2 separate regions of the Homo sapiens genome follow, and region 2 is linked to region 1. Evidence: promoter capture Hi-C in human tissues and cell types (Jung and others, 2019). All regions are on one chromosome and are shown on one strand. Each heading gives the region's core, a stretch centred on a gene start or on the middle of the fragment in contact. The rest is flanking DNA. Distances are from core to core; before and after follow the strand shown. Region 1 holds the start of HACL1 (2-hydroxyacyl-CoA lyase 1). Region 2 overlaps GALNT15 (polypeptide N-acetylgalactosaminyltransferase 15).

Region 1 (3,815 bases), core at 450-2,949:
TTTGGGGGACTGTTGGGAAGGCATGATTGGTTTTGAAATGTGAGGATATGATATTTGGGAGGGGCCAGGGGCAGAACAGTTTGGCTGTGTCCTCATCCAAATCTCATCTTGAATTATAGCTCCCATAATCCCCACATGTGGTGAGAGGGACCCAGTGGGAAGTAACTGAATCATGGGGAGGGGATTTTTCCCATGCTGTTCTAATGATAGTAAGTCTCATGAGATCTGATGGTTTTATAAAGGGCAGTTCCCCTGCACACGCTCTCTTGCCTGCCACCATGTAAGACATGCCTTTGCTCCTCCTTCACCTTCTGCCATGATTGTGAGGCCTCCGTAGCCATTTGGAACTGTGAGACCATTAAACCTCTTTTTCTTTATAAATTACCCAGTTTTGGGTATTTCTTTATAGCAGTATGAAAATGGACTAACACCGTCCACATATGCAGGGAGGCAACCACTTCACTCTCCTCTGCTTGGGGTGGGGTTGAGGGGTTGAGAAAAAGAGGGGAAGACCTTTTGAAAAGACCCAGGACTACAGTTTGAAAATGTCTGGGTTTAGAAATCGTTTCACTTCCAGTGCTTCTCACTCATTTCACTACCCATGACCCACTCCCCTCTCATCTCTTTACTGTCCACTTATCACTGTTCTTTTTGCTTAAAATGACTCCAAATCCTCAAAAAATTAAAAGTTCCACTGTTTATTACAATTGGAAATTTTATGTTTATTGTCACTGAGCAGAGGGTCTAATGACTCCAAGGCAGTAGTTTCAGATATTGCACATTGCAAACGATTTTCACACAAAAATGTTTTAAAAGGCTATCGGGTGCAGGGCTGGTTGTAGGTAGGGACCCAACCTAAGAATTATGAAACGCCATAGTTCCTAATTTTGGAAAGATATTAGCGGAGAGTAATATGGATTAGTAGCAAGGGCTGGAGAAAACAGTGCTCTATACTACCTTCAAGGTGCTCTTTTCATCGCTTGTGACCCAATGGCTGAATAGTGGGTAGGAAACAGGATTCAGGATCTCAGGCACGGTCTGGATCTACTGACTCTGAGCGTCATTTTATCTCTTGCTGGGGTACACATCTGCTTCTGGATTTAAGTAACGTGCGCTACAATAATTTAAGGACTATAAAACCACAAGGTTATGAGAGCGTAAACCACAAAGCGTGTAAGTAAATGCCTAGAAAACGCAACGCGGTAGCACAGCAGCAACGCACAAACAGCCCCAGCAAACGACGCGCGCCGGGCTTCCCAGCTCCCGGCAGCCTTTGCGCAGCCCTCCCCAAGTCCAACTGGGCGCCCGGGGCGGGGTCTGGACCGCACGCCCTTACCACACCCCCTCCGCGCCGCACCACGCCCCCTCCGTACCTGCTCTTAGCGCGCCTTCCGCCCTGAATATGCGCATGCGCCATTCTCCCTTTACAGCCCCGAAAACGCTCCAGCTGGCCGACTCGGAGACAATGGCGAGAGGCCTCAGAGTTCGGCTTCTTACCTGCTTTGCATAGGCAGCAATCTCCTGCTAGTCCCGCCTCCCTCTGGCATTCTGGCGCGCGAATGGAGGAGCCGAGAAGAGAGCGCAGTTCTGATTGGAGAACGCGCGTGTTTACATTCTCACCTCTCCCGGGAAGTGGACGAATTTAGACCGCCTCTTCCTTCCCGTTGTTTAAGGCAGTTGGTTGCCCTCCTGTCCGTCAGAGGTGCAGTACCAGAGGTGGCGTGCTGCCGATTTCGCGTTTGCCTTGCTGGATGATTCCGCTTGTTTGCCGGCTGCGTGAGTGCTTAGAGCTTTTCGGTGGAAGATGCCGGACAGTAACTTCGCAGAGCGCAGCGAGGAGCAGGTGTCTGGTGCTAAAGTCATCGCTCAGGCCCTGAAAACGCAAGTACGATGGACCTTCCTGGAATGAAAGGCTCCTACGGAAGCTGGCGGGGACCGCGATGTTGTCTTGGAGACGAGTAGAAATGGGCGATGGGGGTCGGGGGGTTTTCCTTTTAGCGCCCGGGAGGGAGGGAAGGATGTGGCGATATGGTGGGGCCTTGGGAGTTTACTCCCCTGTTCTTCGTTCCTCAGGATGTGGAGTACATATTTGGCATCGTAGGCATCCCAGTGACCGAAATCGCCATTGCTGCCCAGCAGCTAGGCATCAAGTACATCGGGATGAGGAATGAGCAAGCGGTGAGTATGGACTCAGGTGGCTGAATGCGTTACTGGGAATGATCAGTAATAGCGGTAGGTATGCATTGCAAACACCCAGATAGCGCTTACCACTCTTCTGCTACTTTACATATATCATATCAATCACTGTTGAATATTAACTGTTGTTACACCAAGTTGACAGATGAGAAAAGACACAGGTTAAGTAAAACTTGCCTTTGGTGACACAGCTGGTAGTAGCAGAGCCAGGGTTTGAACCCACGTATTCTGGGTCTGAGTCCATTCTCTTACTACTATACTGTATGTCATGATTGGAATGGACAGTTTATGAGTAAAGTCTGACTTCCCTATTAGGCTACAAGCTCCATTAGAGCAGGGATATTATTTCTTCACGACACATCTGTACCCCCAGTGCTTAGTGTGGTGCCTGCATAAGAAAGGTGTTCAGAGATTACCTGTGGGATAAATGAGTGAAGGCCAAGGCTTTGTTGTATGATTGGTTCGGGGCAGGGTGGAGGATATCACAAATGGTAGTGCCTTGATGGAAACTCAGATGGCTCAGATCCTAGCCTGATGCTTTTTCCACCACATCATGCTGCCACCTTTCTTAGAGGCTTATTTGGAAGCAGGATAAGGAAGATACGACGTTTTGTCAATCCACTTTAAGTGCATCCTCTGCCAATCCACCTTGCTCTTCTCTCAGTAGTGCGGGCTTGAAAGGTCAAGAATCCACTTCTGTGATATCACATACTCTCAGTCCAGCTGAGGCTAAATATTCCTGCTTTACACTCCCACCGTTGCCTTCTAATTTAAATTCTTGCCTCCTCTTGCCCAAACAACTGCCTGGCCACCCTAAGTGGTGCCTTTTGCCATCATACATGAGTGCCTGGAGGGCAGAAGTTGTGATTCATTTGTTATATCACCACAGTGCCTGGCTTGGTTTGTGCTTTCACGTGGTGTAGATGCTTAATATTATACATTATTTATTAATTGAATGACATTCTTTATTGAATGACATTCTTTATTGAATGACATTCTTTATCTACAAGGTTTGAGATTTGTATTTTTTAATCTTAAAACTAGGAGGTTTTGAGTTTCTGTTGCTTCTACATTTTACTTGTCTTTGTTAGAACAACATTCTGTTCTTTCATCTGTGTGAAAAAATGAAGCTATTGACCTATGAATGGAACCTATACTTAACTGTTTTTGTAGAGATGACATATCTGCCACTGATTTCTTCATACAGCAAACATTTATTGACTAAGTACTGTATACTAAGGATTGTGCTACATAACCTGTAGGAGAGAGGGATGTAAAGAAGGAGTGAGGTTTAGTCTTGATCTTCACGTTGATCAGTCCTGGAAGGTGAGGGTAAGACTTACAGAAAAAGACTCATCTATTATAACTCTCACAATAGATGTAGTAGCACAGAAGGGGTGACTGGTTCTCTTTGAGGACAGAGAAGATTGCCTGTAGAGGTAATGTTAGTTCATGTGGTTCCCTCAAGGTAGGTAAAGGCATGGTGAGCTGTGAGACTGGTAGGTAGGTTGAGGGGAGGTTGTGGGAAATCTAAAAAGAGTTTGAATTTTTTTTTTTTTTTAACAGTAGGCAATGGGGGAGACTAAAGGTTTTTCTAAACAGGTGGGCGATGTAATTAG
Region 2 (4,315 bases), core at 857-3,356, 620 kb before region 1:
TATACTTTGATGTTTGTTTTATTAGGGGCCTTTGGGATGTGATAACTTAAAAGTCCCTATCACACCCTGAAAAGAGAGAGACTTGGGGACAAGCTAGGCTTTCTAGGTTGTGATCCAGTTGTGAAAAGAAGTGGACCTACCAGCCCTCAGCTAGCATCGGTGGAGGATTTCTACCACTTTGGGCAGTTACTCCATGATGAAAATTTTGAAGAGAAGAATTACTCCTAAGATATGAGGAGACCTTCCTAATGACCAAATGGTGCTGGAGGCTGGGATGACCCTGTTTTCTCTAGATCCTTATCCTGATTTGATTACCTTCTTCTTCAGTCCTGGGACAACTGAACCCTGCCTGAATCCTGGAGGCTTCTGAGTTTGCAATCCCTGGGCTAGTGACCCTAAGCCTCAGTTTTCTCATCTGTCAAATGAAAAGTTTGGCCAAACGGCTTCTCCATTTCCCTTTAACTAAGATGCTTTTATTTTCTGACAATGGCACATGTCTGTGCTTACAGATGGAGGTGAGGTGAGGAGAGCTGTGATGAGTCATTACAGTGGGGGACCATGGCAGTCAAGGGACATGGGACCACAGAAAGAAGATACCTCAAAGGGAAGTATGGGGCATCCCAGAAAAATATCGCCCACTTTCAAGTCTTCTTGGGCTATCATCCATCCTGAGAAGTCTGACTACCCACCTGTTGCTGCCGGCTGTCACTGCAAGGAGCCAACACCATGGGACAGCCCAGGATGTCCCCTTCTGCCTGGCAGTCTGCACAGAGCCCAAGTCCAGTGTTGTGGAGCTGAAAGTGGACACACACACAGGAGTGAATTCCAGATTCCACTGTAAAGACACCCTCGGTCAGACACCATTCCTTTGCTGTATTCTCTGGAGTGCAGCCCAAGGCACATTGTTCAGGCCACAACAACAGGTGTGGTAAAGCTGAAGCCACTGACCCTAAGGGACAGGCCTCTTGAAGGAGGTGCTTTGGGGTGGGTAATGGGGCAAAACTCAGCCACCTTCCTCAGACTGGCATGGAGGCACGGGATGGACCCAAGGCCTCTGAGGCCCTGCTAAACCGTGAATGGTTGACCAGGGACATGGAAGAGCTGAACATCTAGTTCTTGTCTTGGGAAGCTTCCCTGTCCCTCCCCATCTTCCCTGGGTCATGCCTTGCCTTTCCAGAGAAACTGGGCCTGGGTTCAGATGGGTACAGCTCAGGGTAGACATTAGCCAGAAACCAGTGGAATGTCCGACAACCCAGTCTCCTTTGCAGCTGCAAGCGTTCCATGCAGTCTGGCTTCTCAGCCTGGGGAGGAGAAAGACACAAGCAGGATGATGAAAGCTTGTCTTGCCCAGAATTCACATGGTTGGGGATGGAGTGGCTGGGAAGAAGCTAAAGGATCAGGACAGAAGGAAGGGGCCAAGACCACAGTTCTCCAGGGCTGCAGTGGGGAGGGTCATGTGTTGGGAGAAGAAGGTCTGGAAGGGATAGAATAGCACAGATCTTCCCTACAGAGAGTTGTGGAACCAGCAAGACTGTAAGTGATATCAGCCCCTTCCCACAATCCCTCAAATCTCCAGTCTATAAAGACTACAATAGGCCGGGAGTGGTGGCTCACACCTCCAGCACTTTGGGAGGCCGAGGCTGGTGGATCACTTGAGGTCAGGAGTTCAAGACCAGCCTGGCCAACATGGTGAAACCCCATCTCTACTAAAAATACAAAAAATTAGCCAGGTGTGGTGGCGCATGCCTGTAATCCCAGTTACTCAGGAGGCTGAGACAGGAGAATCACTTGAACCCAGGAGGCAGAGGCTACAGTGAGCCAAGATCGTGTTACTGTACTCCAGCCTGGGCGACAGAGCAAGACTTCCTCGCAAAAAAAAAAAAAAAAAAAAAAGAGAGAGAGAGAGAGTCTATGATATCTGTGCTTTAATGATTTTTCTGCAGAAGCTGGCAAAATGGTGGGGCTTTGCACCTAGCTTGGTGTAAGGAGAAACTACGAGGGGCCTCATGGAGTCAGGAACTGACCCATAGGCAATTGAGATGAAGTTGGTTGGGAAATCGTGGGCTAGGGGTTGGGGCAAGGCAAATTTATCTTTCTTCACCTCTGGGTACCATTAATGAATCATTCTTTTGGGCTACACTATCTCCTTTTTTTGAGATTCTCCTTTATGATACAATTGTCCTAGGATGGAGATGAAGGCAAATCCTGAACACTAGTACAAATTAATGTTTTTGGCCATATTGATGATACAAAGAACTGTATCCAAAAGTTTAGTACCAAATCTTGGATACTTTTAGGGAAGAGAGAGGTGACAAGGATGGGTTGGAATGACCACAGACAAAAAAAGAGAGAACCCTTTCCTGGCATGGGGAGAGGAAGCGAGCTGGCCATGTCAGAGTTCCCACTTGGTGGCCTCCAATCTGACAGTAAGACACGGGTCCACCAGGCTGTGTAAAGTATGATTGGTTTGGTTCTGCTTTCCCTCTCTCTTTTAGACCTCAGCTGGAAATGTGGTAAGTCTGTTGTACTGAAATTCTCTCTAGACACTTCTCAAAGTGTGATTCCCTGAGCATCTGCCTGAGAAATGCCACGGAGCTAGTTAAAAATGTAGATTCCTGGGCCCTGCCCCAGAGATGATACAGTTGTTTGGGTTGGAGGCCCTGGAATCTGCATTTTAACCATGTCTCCTGGTGAGTCTTTTTCACACAAAGTTTGAGAAAAACTTCTCTAAGTCAGGGATTTCTTGTTTATTCAGTGTATTTACCCACCATGAAACCAAGGGGATCTATTACTTTTTCCTCTAAGTAAATTAGTATAAGTTTCTTGATGGCTTCTTGGCATTCTTTGTGTTTATTTGAGACCTCCGTAGACCTTTCCCAGAGTTGGACTTTGCTACCAAAACAGAAACATTTCTTCATATGAGTTTTATCACCTTTACTTTCCTTGATAAAGAGATAAACTGATAAATCTACCCAATCTTTGTTTGACCTTGAGTGAGGGGCAGGCTGACAATGAACTTTCCCTTCTGTACAATTATGTCTGAGAGAAGAGAAAACAAGGAAATTTCAGCTCCCCAAGCAGCAAAAGTCTGGCCTTGTCTTTTGGGTGCCCAGGATTTCTGTCTCTCAGAATCCTTGTGGGGGTTTTGGGGTGGATGGAGAAATAGAAATCTTTAGGGCAAAATTAACTTTTGGTTATTTAAATTTAAAGTAAATTCATGCTATCAAATACCTTCAGGGAAGTAGGAATGTCACTGAAACCTTGAAATCAAAGTAAGTGATAGGACATTTCCAAAGCATGAATTAATGGAAATGCTCAACAGAGAGAGAAATAAAAGGAGCCCTCTGCTAAAGCTCTTCTCACTGACCAATAAGGGTGCCATTCTCCTTGCAAAAGTCATCAAATGAACAAAGTGGACATCTGTGAATCAGAGAATGGACACCCAAATGGATATAAGAAGAAAAAGGTACCTCACCTGTAGACTTTATGAAAGTAAGCCGAGCACTTATTCTCCATAGCACTCTTTCACATTTCATTTTATAGTATACTCACAACAGTTACTGAGTTCTTAGAGGTTAAATGACTTTCACAGGGTCAATAGCTTCTAAGAGGTCAGAGTGTTTTATTAGGTAGCTAGTCAGACATAAGCAGGGCAGGAGAGGATTTTCCCCGACCCCCCCAACCTCCAGGGATGTCAGGCCACCATCAGGTGTTGGTTAGGCAGCTGTTAACTGTCTCTCTAAAATAATAATTAGTTGCAGCTGGCACCAGGGAACGGCAGTCTCCCAACAGATAGAAAAACCTGAAATTGGTGATCAGCTTCCCGATATGATCTCAGGAGTTGGGCAAGTGGGCTCAAGCATGTGCACTAAGAGGCAAAATGGTGGCGTTTAACTGGTACATGACCTTCCTCCGGGAATGCGCAACTGGTAACGCCTCACGTGAGCATGCGAAAAATTTCAGTAAACACACTGCGCATGCTCCCCTCCCAAGGGCTAACAGGCCACTGCACGTGTGAACAGCCCCCGCCAGGGGAAGAATCAGGGAAAAAGGGACACAAGCCCCCAGAAGCATGCCAATGTATAAGACCCCAAGTGAAAAATCAAACTGCGCACTTAATTGATCGCTCAAGTCCCCCACTTGGCCCTGTTCCAAATGTACTTTACTTACTTTCATTTCTGCCCTAAACTTTTTTTTTTTTTCCCGAGACAGAGTCTTGCTCTGGCTCGCAGGCTAAAGTGCAGTGGGGCGATATCAGCTCACTACAAACTCCACCTCCCTAGCTCAAGCCATCCTTCCACCTCAGCCTCCCGAG

Evidence for each region. The method cuts DNA at HindIII sites, captures the fragments that hold promoters and counts their contacts. A contact is called where the count stands out against the background at its distance.
Region 2: a fragment that was not itself captured here is called in contact with the fragment with the promoter of HACL1 in region 1 in 2 of the 25 tissues and cell types used here (IMR-90 fibroblasts and lymphoblastoid cells).

The regions. Positions count from the first base shown.
Region 1 is chr3:15,599,453-15,603,267 of GRCh38, reverse strand. HACL1 (2-hydroxyacyl-CoA lyase 1) reads left to right here and starts at 1,699. Exons shown (of 17, transcript NM_012260.4): 1 at 1,699-1,885; 2 at 2,074-2,178. The coding sequence starts at 1,805. BTD (biotinidase) reads right to left here and starts at 1,523. Exons shown (of 4, transcript NM_001370658.1): 1 at 1,374-1,523. RefSeq lists a silencer at 1,251-1,310 and an enhancer at 1,152-1,794. The HindIII fragment of the contact is 8,334 bases long and covers 1-3,815 here.
Region 2 is chr3:16,216,389-16,220,703 of GRCh38, reverse strand. GALNT15 (polypeptide N-acetylgalactosaminyltransferase 15) reads right to left here. Exons shown (of 10, transcript NM_054110.5): 7 at 1,170-1,301; 8 at 690-794. Among named protein-coding and RNA genes, the nearest start is that of GALNT15, 44 kb to the right of the region's middle. The HindIII fragment of the contact is 3,407 bases long and covers 403-3,809 here.